Linked DNA regions of Homo sapiens: regions 1 and 2 are each linked to region 3. The links are contacts of gene promoters, found by promoter capture Hi-C in blood cells and fetal thymus (Javierre and others, 2016). All regions are on one chromosome and are shown on one strand. The core of a region is centred on a gene start or on the middle of the fragment in contact, and the rest is flanking DNA. Distances in the headings are between cores, read along the strand shown. Region 1 overlaps FBXW8 (F-box and WD repeat domain containing 8). Region 2 overlaps TESC (tescalcin). Region 3 holds the start of MED13L (mediator complex subunit 13L).

Evidence for each region. The method cuts DNA at HindIII sites, captures the fragments that hold promoters and counts their contacts. A CHiCAGO score of 5 or more calls a contact.
Region 1: a contact is called between a fragment that was not itself captured here and the fragment with the promoter of MED13L in region 3, in 1 of 17 cell types (naive CD8 T cells). The highest score is 6.6, in naive CD8 T cells.
Region 2: a fragment that was not itself captured here is called in contact with the fragment with the promoter of MED13L in region 3 in 1 of 17 cell types (neutrophils); the score reaches 5.1 in neutrophils.

What each region holds. Positions count from the first base shown.
Region 1 is chr12:116,922,681-116,925,388 of GRCh38, forward strand. The region is part of intron 1 of FBXW8 (F-box and WD repeat domain containing 8); the gene reads left to right. Among named protein-coding and RNA genes, the nearest start is that of FBXW8, 13 kb to the left of the region's middle. The HindIII fragment of the contact is 6,125 bases long and covers 1-2,708 here.
Region 2 is chr12:117,071,432-117,074,142 of GRCh38, forward strand. The region is part of intron 2 of TESC (tescalcin); the gene reads right to left. Among named protein-coding and RNA genes, the nearest start is that of TESC, 27 kb to the right of the region's middle. The HindIII fragment of the contact is 1,681 bases long and covers 621-2,301 here.
Region 3 is chr12:116,276,433-116,279,132 of GRCh38, forward strand. It overlaps MED13L (mediator complex subunit 13L), which reads right to left and starts at 1,261. Exons shown (of 31, transcript NM_015335.5): 1 at 628-1,261. The coding sequence starts at 699. RefSeq lists silencers at 1,090-1,559, 1,610-1,669. The HindIII fragment of the contact is 4,130 bases long and covers 1-2,700 here.

The DNA of each region.
Region 1 (2,708 bases), core at 54-2,553, 650 kb after region 3:
CCCTGGGGATGGATCTCTTTGCAATTTCTCTCAGTGTTTTTGGAGTAAGTCCAGTAGACTTTGGGAAAATCTAGTATTCACTGACTTTAAATTAAATAAGTAATATGACCCCTTTGAGTGTGTGTGTGTGTGTTTTTTTTCCCTTGACTAGGAAAAAGGGGATGGATAGATTTTTATATCTGCCTATGATGTATGGTTGTGTTCTCAACTTTTAGTGTGCATGAGGATCGCCTGAGAAAGAGGTGCTTGAGGCCGGGTGCAGTGGCTCATGCCTGTAATCCCAGCACTCTGAGAGGCCAAGGCAGGTGGAGGCCGAGAGTTCGAGACTAGCCTGGCCAACATGACAAAACCCTGTCTCTACTAAAAAATACAAAAATTAGCTAGATGTGGTGATGTGTGCCTGTAATCTCAGCTACTTGGGAGGCTGAGGCATGAGAATCGCTTGAACCTGGGAGGCAGAGGTTTCATTGAGCCAGGATCGTGCCACTGCACTCCAGACTGGGCGACAGAGCGAGACTCTGTCTCAAAAGAAAAGGAGGTGCTTGAGCCCTAACCCTGGAAATTCAGGGCAGTAGGTCTTGGTAGGGCCCTTGGCATTTTTTTTTTTAAATTCCACAGGTGATTTTAATGTGTAATACAGGACGAAAGTCCCCAATAGTGGTAGAGAATCGATATCTGAGACATTGTCAAAGAATTAAAAGCAAGGTTGTATGTTATCAAACAGATACTTTTCCTTAACATTGAAGGAATACTAATATTTTGAATTTATTGGTTTCCTATAGAATAAATTTGGCCAGTCTCACATTGCTGAGAGCTATTCAACTACTGCAAAATTATTTTCTTTTTTTTTTTGTTTTGAGACAGAGTCTCGCTCGCTCTGTCACCCAGGCTGGAGTGCAGTGGCGCGATCTCGGCTCACTGTAAGCTCTGCCTGCCGGGTTCACGCCATTCTCCTGGCTCAGCCTCTCGAGTAGCTGGGACTACAGGCGCCTGCCACCACACCCGGCTAATTTTTTGTATTTTTAATTAATTAATTAATTTATTTATTTATTTATTTTGAGACGGAGTCTTGCTCTGTCGCCCGGGCTGGAGTGCAGTGGCGCGATCTCGGCTCACTGCAAGCTCCGCCTCCCAAGTTCACGCCGTTCTTCTACTTAAGCCTCCTGAGTAACTGGGACTACAGGCGCCTGCCACCAGGCCCGGCTAATTTTTTTATTAGAGACGGGGTTTCACCATGTTAGCCAGGATGATCTCCATCTCCTGACCTCGTGATCCGCCTGCCTCGGCCTCCCAAAGTGCTGGGATTACAGGCGTGAGCCACTGCACCCGGCCCAAAATTACTTTCTCTAAATATTGTAGCCATGTTGATATTTTTATAGTTTGACCAGATTTCTCTATTTTAATATTTCTAATGTCTTTAATTCCTTTTCCTTCTTCTTGGAATATCTTTGTTTCTGAAATGACAGGTTGTCCATTTTCATGTTTTTAAGTCAGTGTTGTCCATTTTCATGTTTTTAAGTCAGTGTAGAGTTGGGTTAACGTGGCCCATAACTTTTTGGATGGCTATGTGCTTCGCAGTAGTCTAGGTGGAACACTGATAGCATCTTTATTTATTTATTTTTAATGGACACATTATAATTGTACATATTTATGGGGCACGGTGTCATATATGTATACAATGTATATTGACCAAATCAGGGTAATTAATGTATCCATCACCTAAAACGTTTATTATTTGTGTTGTAAACATTCAAAATCTGTTCTTCTAGCTATTTGAAAATATACAATAAATTGTTGTGAATTATAGTCAACCTGTAGTGCCACAGAGAACCAGAACTCATTCCTCCTGTCTAGCTGCACTTTTATATCCATTAACCAACCTCTGTCTGATAGTGTGTTTTAGATAACAAGGTATTTCTCTGCACACTAGTAGCAAGTAGTGTTTTTAACCTACATTTATGAACTGTGGGAAGTACCCAATCAGAGTGCCTAAGACATTCTGCTGCCCGACAGTAGTAGGATTTATGTGGTTACTAGACCACAGCTTTTGTCCAGGATGTGGCTTCATATCCTTGTCAGATCATGCACACTAATAAAAGAGGTGTGTTTTCAACCACAGGGCCAAATATGCTCACAACTCTGCCTCTTGTAAGGTGTTTCTCAAATGATATTTCCAATAATAACAAACTGAAGTTGATGAATTAGTTACTAAACCTTGAATTTACTCTGGTTTGTCTGGTGGAGTGATGTCACTCATTTACCTGCATTCTAGTATCCTCCTCAAGTAGGGGAGAGGAAGTAGCTTACCTAGACTAATGTCTCTGGAGGTGTGCTTAAGAAACCTTGGGAATATATTGAACACAGGACTATCGTGGGTCATGTCTATCACTTTGGTTAAAAAAAAAAAAGATTGAACTTTTCAAAAAATAGATTCTGAAATGGAGATTTGCATGTAGGTGGTTTAGTGGGTTTTCCTTTCAGAGAGGTCCTGAACTGAGCAAGGGGGCCAGGCCTTTGTACCCAGCCATGGACTAGTCATTGGATACAGGCTGCCTTAGTGGGGTGGGAGGGGATGCAACCTGGGTGAGTCAGCTTGTTTGGCCAAAGGCATTGCCTAGGAAGGGACTCAGCTGTGAGTCAACAGCAGGCAGCATTTTCATCTAGGGGAATGAGTGGGACCGGAAGCGGGATCTGAGTGACCCACTGCA
Region 2 (2,711 bases), core at 211-2,710, 800 kb after region 3:
GCTGTGGGCCTTCACGGGGCAGGAGACGTGTCTTGGAAATGTGGTCCACACTGAGGCCTCAGCAAAGCAGAAGCCAGCATCTACACACCTGTGTGAGTCCCACATAAAGAACACAAAGATGACGTTGATGGCACTGGGTAGCCATCAAGAGGGCTGTTGAGCAGAGGCTGCTCACTAGCTCCTTTGAATGACCCTGCCAGGCAGGCACACTGAGGGCTTGTGCAAGGGTGCTACATATGAGGTCCTGGGGATGGGTGTGCAGGAGAGGGGCAAACAGGGTTTGGGGTGGCAGGGCAGGACCAACGGCTCACATTTCTAAGCTGAGCCTGGGCAGGTGAGGCCTGGGAGGTAGGAGTCCGGCGCCATCAGCACAGAGAGGCCGCGCCAGCTCAGCTCCTGCAGGAGGAGGACGCTCCACCCACTCAACCATGGAGGACCTACTGTGTGCTGTCCACAGTGCTGGGCAACGGAGGCACTTGTTAGAAATGCAGAGTCTCAGGCCCCACCCTAGAACTGCAGAAGCAAAACCTGCATGGCAGCAAGATTCCCAGGTGATTCGAGCACAGTCAAGTTGGAAAAAAACTGTTGTAGGGAATGCCATTTTAGTACGTCCCATTGTAAGCTTATGATGGGGTGCTAGGCAATGCATCAGGGCTCAGCGCCTAGAACCTAAAAGTGGGAGGGGCCTCCAACAGCCTCATATCCTCCTCCTCACACAGCACCTGGGCCCCCACCACACTCAGATTAGACCCTCAGGATGGGGTGGAAGAATAGCCCCATTTGCCAAATGCCTGTGAACCCAGCTTAGAGCTAAACTGCCCTGCTTGCACCTGCTTTTTTTTCCCCCTAGAGATGGGGTCTCACTGTGTTGCCCAGGTTGGGCTCAAGCGATCCTCCAGCCTTGGCCTCCCAAAGTGCTGAGATTATAGTCGTGAGTCACAGTGCCCGGCCGACTGCTCATTTTTAATGCTCAAATCAAATCCCAAGTGACCATGCTCACTTTCCAGATGAGGAGACCAGCTCAGAGAAAGGAAGTAACCAGCCCGAAGCCACAAAGCCAATGGCATGAAGGATTCTAATACAGTTGGACTCCGAAGCCTGGGTTTTTGCCTCTGCATCTCTATGCATGTAGAATATGAACCTAAAGTTCACCACCCAAAGTTGGATGGATCTAACATCAGATGCATAACAATAAGTCCAAGGCAGTTTGTTACAGGGCTGGGGGCTCCACTTGCTGGAAAACTGTCTTGAGGACAAAGGGGCTCTGCCTTCCCACATCCTCCACTGTGAGCTCCATAGCGGCTGCAGCTACCAGCGTAGGTACCAAGCACCTGGCGCAGAGCAGATGCTCATGAACTTTTTAAGAGACAGGGTCTTGCTCTGTTGCCCAGCCTGGAGTACAGTGGTGCACTCATAGCCCACTGCAGTCTTGAACCCCTGGGTTCAAGTGATCCTCCTGCCTCAGCTTCCCAAGTAGCCAGAGCTACATGTGTGCATCACCAGACCTGGCTAATTTTTAAATATTTTGTAGAGAAAGGGTCTTGCTATGTTGCCCAGGCTGCTCATTAACTTCTGAAGGAACAAGCAAAGCACGCCCTTGACACTGTTTTCCAGCATCCAGTGTCCATATATGCCACCTCCCCGCTAGATCTCAGTGCCTGGCTGACTTGTGTCATGCTACACACTCCTCAGCCTATGGACCAAGGAGGTTTCACCTTGCCCTGGTTGAAACCACCCGCCCTCCATCCCTGTCCTTGGAGGAAACTGACCCCAGGCCCCATGCCCTTATAGCTCTAGGGGAAAACATTTGCATGTCTGGTCTTTGGCCATGGCGATTGGCTCAGACTCAGGCCCGTGACCCCATCAGAGCCAATGAGAAGCCAGGTGACTCTTCCGCTGGGCTCAGGTTCTCTCTCCTCCACTGGGCTTGGTGGGCAAGATGTCTAGAATTAAAGGTATAAATCTTAATTGTCTTTAAGTCGGCCTTGGATGCAATCAAACTGAGACCAGAGGCCACAAGAATCATGAGACCGTCAGAATCTGAGCTCTTGAAATTAAGAATGAAATATACTGGATTAACAATATGCCTGTGTTTAGACAAACAAGAGAAAGTGGACATTTATATGTCAGTTTCCATAAAACCTAGGGGAAATTTAAGTCTGTTTACCAAGAAGGAAGTTTCCCTGGAGTATTAGAAGGTTTGTTTCAAAGTTCCAACAAGCTGTAACCTTGAGACTCTGAATGCTTATTTTAGGAAACTACATCTGTTAGAAGTTTATGGTAGAAATTTGTTCAACTTGAAGCTTCCCCATGAACTCTGTGTGACGATCAAGTCACTGGCAAGGACCTCTCACTAACCCAGCTGTAAGTAACTCAAGCAGCACTCGCTTGTAATCCCAGCCACTCAGGAGGCTGAGGCGGGGGGACTGCTTGAGCTCAGGAGTTCAAGATCACCCTGGGTAACATAGCAAGACCACGTCTCAAAAAAAAAAAATACAAAACAATTAACAGGTCTGGTGCAGCGGTACACACCTGTAGTGCCAGCACTTTGGGAGGTAGAAATGAGGGGACTGCTTGAGGCCAGGAGTTTGAGACCAGCCTGGGCAACATAGTGAGACCCCCATCTCTACAAAAACTTTAAAAAATTAGCTGGTGTGGTGGTGCATGGCTGTAGTCCCAGCACTTTGGGAAGCTAAGGCAGGAGGATCACC
Region 3 (2,700 bases), core at 11-2,510:
CCGTCGGCTCGGTGCAATGGCTTTACGGCTCTCCAGCATAGTAAGCCCCGAGAGGCAGGCGGCTGTCGATGTTTACAATCGCGGGAGCTTCGGGTGCAAGAGTCCTTTCCTGACACAATCGCATTCAATCAACTATTTTAGGGCGAAATTGCAGGTGTCATTATGGAATTTAAAAAAATTCAAAAGGCAGGCGGGCGGGCAGGCAGCTGATCCAACAACGGGGGAAGAGGTTGCCGATCGGAGGCGCGGCAGCACAAGGCAAAGCCTTCCACATTTACGGGGGGAAAAAAAGGGGGGAAAGGGGAGGAGAAGGGGAGTGCGATTGCAACAGAGGGTGGGCGTTCGAAGTGCGACCCAGAATCCGCAGCTCCGAGACTTCCACATGCAAATTCCACGCCGAGCGCCGCGCTCACAAATGATTTTTAAAGAGCCAAATAAACACTGGATGGGATCCAAGGCGAGAGAGAGACGATCCAAAAGGGGGAGAATCGGCGAGAGGCGAACGGCGGGGAGACGCGAGGGAGGGGCGAAGTCCCGGCGGCGGGAGGAGAAAGTTGGTCGGCGGCGGAGGTCGGGGACCCCCCCCCTTCCCCGGCACAGCCCCCTCCCCGCAGCCCGGCTACTCACCAGCGAAAAGAGGTTGGAGTGACAATCCTCCAGGCTCGCCCCGTTCGCCACCCAGTTCGCTGCCGCAGTCATGATCCTCCGCGAGCCCGGCCGCCAGAGCGGGGCATGTCGGAGCGAGGCGTCCGAGGCGAGGCCGGGCCGGGCGGCGGCGCCTCGCCGGGGAGCGCGGGGCGGCCGGGCCGCCGCCGCCGCCGGGGGAGGGCGCGAGGGCCGGCGGGCAGGCGGGAGGCGCCGCGGCGACGCCGCGCCGGGGGCAGCGGGCCCGGGCTGGCGGGGGGGGCGCGCGCCCCGGGCCGGCGCTGCGGGCCGGCCACCGCCTCCGCCTTCCCTGCTCCTCAGCCGCCGCCGCCGCCGCTGCTGCCGCTGCCGCCGCCTTGTTTATCTCCAGCCACCGACTCCCCCTCGGCCCCCGCCGGCGCGCGAGGGGAGGCGAGCCCCGGAGCCGCCGCCGCCGCCTCGGAGCCGCCGCCGCCGCGGAGCGCGAACTCGCGAAGGGGGGGGTGCGGACGAAGCCAGCGGGCGACCCCGGCAGCCGAGCGACGTCCCCTCCTTCCTCTTCCTCCCCCACCCCCCCCTCCTCCCCAGTCAGCCTCGCTTCTCCTCCCTCCCCGGGCTCGCTTGCTCTGACAGCAATGGCGGCCGCCGACCGCGGCTCGGCCCGCCATTGGCTGGCGCTTGGTCACGTGACGGGCGCCGGCCGCGCGGGGGGAGCGAGGGGCGGGCGGGGGAGGGGTCCGGAGTGGCGGCGGCGGCGGCGGCTCGCGGGAGGCGCTGCTGAGCTGAGCGCGGCCGGGTCCTCCGGCCGGGAAGAGGGAGGGAGGGAGGCAGAGAGGGAGAGAAAGAAGTGCGGGCGGCCGGGCTCCCCGGCGGGCGGCGGACTGCCGGCCCGTGGCTGCCGTGGGCTGCCCCTCGTGGCCGCCCCGCCCCCTCGCGGTGCACTGATCGTGGCGGGGCGGGACCGTGGGTCCCGGGCGCGCCCGTGGTGGCCGCGGAGGAGGGCGCGGGACCCCCGGCCTGTGCCCTCGCAGCCCAGGCCGGCTGGCGTGGCGCGGCGGCCGCGATGTGGGCCAGGCAGCGGGTCCGAGTGCCCTGGGGAATGTGTCCTCAGAGGCTCGCGCCGCCGTCCGCCTTTTGCAGAGGAGAAAACTAAAGCACAAAGGGATTAAATCACTTGCCCGAGGTCGCACACTTGGGAAGAGGAGTCCAGATTCGAACCCGCGCACAGTGAAGCCAAGCTCTTGGACAAGGTTTCACAGGCTTCGCCCAGGGATATTCACGGCTGCCATAGACGGAGCGCTTACTGTGTTCCAGACACTGTGCGTTTAATACAGAAATGTTTATTGAGCCCTTACTCCTAGTTACTGTGTGCACTCATTCATTCATTCATTCATTCATTACATAAATGTTTCCTGAGCTCCTGCTGTGTGCCAGAATCTGTTATAACTTCCAGGCACTGTGCTAAGGCCGTGTTGGGAGCAGACCCTTCTTCCTGGCGTCATTCATTGGATAACCAACATTTCCTGAGTGTATATGGCCTGGGAGTCCGGAGGAGTGCTGCTATGAAGAGAAGCTCTCCCAGTCCTCAAGAAATGGATCCCCGAAAAGGGGGAGGAGAAAACAATGTCTTCACTAATACGCCTCCAAACATGGAACAATCAGCTGTTTCAGGTAGATTAAGCTAAAAGAGGAAGAGTGGATGGCTGGCACAGTGGCTCACGCCGGTAATCCTAGCCGAGGTTTAAGACCAGCCTGAGCAATGTAGCAAGAACCCCCGTCATGACAAAAAAAATAAAATACAAAAATACAAAAATTAGCCAGGCGTAGTGTGGCATGTGCCTGTAGCCCTAGCTACTCGAAAGGCTGAGGTGGGAGGATAACTTGAGCCCTGGAGGCAGAGGCTGCAGTGAGCCCAGTGAGCCGAGGTCGCATCACCGTACTCCAGCCTGAGTGACAGAGAGAGGCCCTGTCTCAAAAAAAAAAAAAAAAAAAAAAAGGAAGAGTAGAAAGCAGGGAAGAGATGAGAGTGTATAATAAGAGAAGTCTTAAGACACGTGAACTGAGTTTTGGAACTAC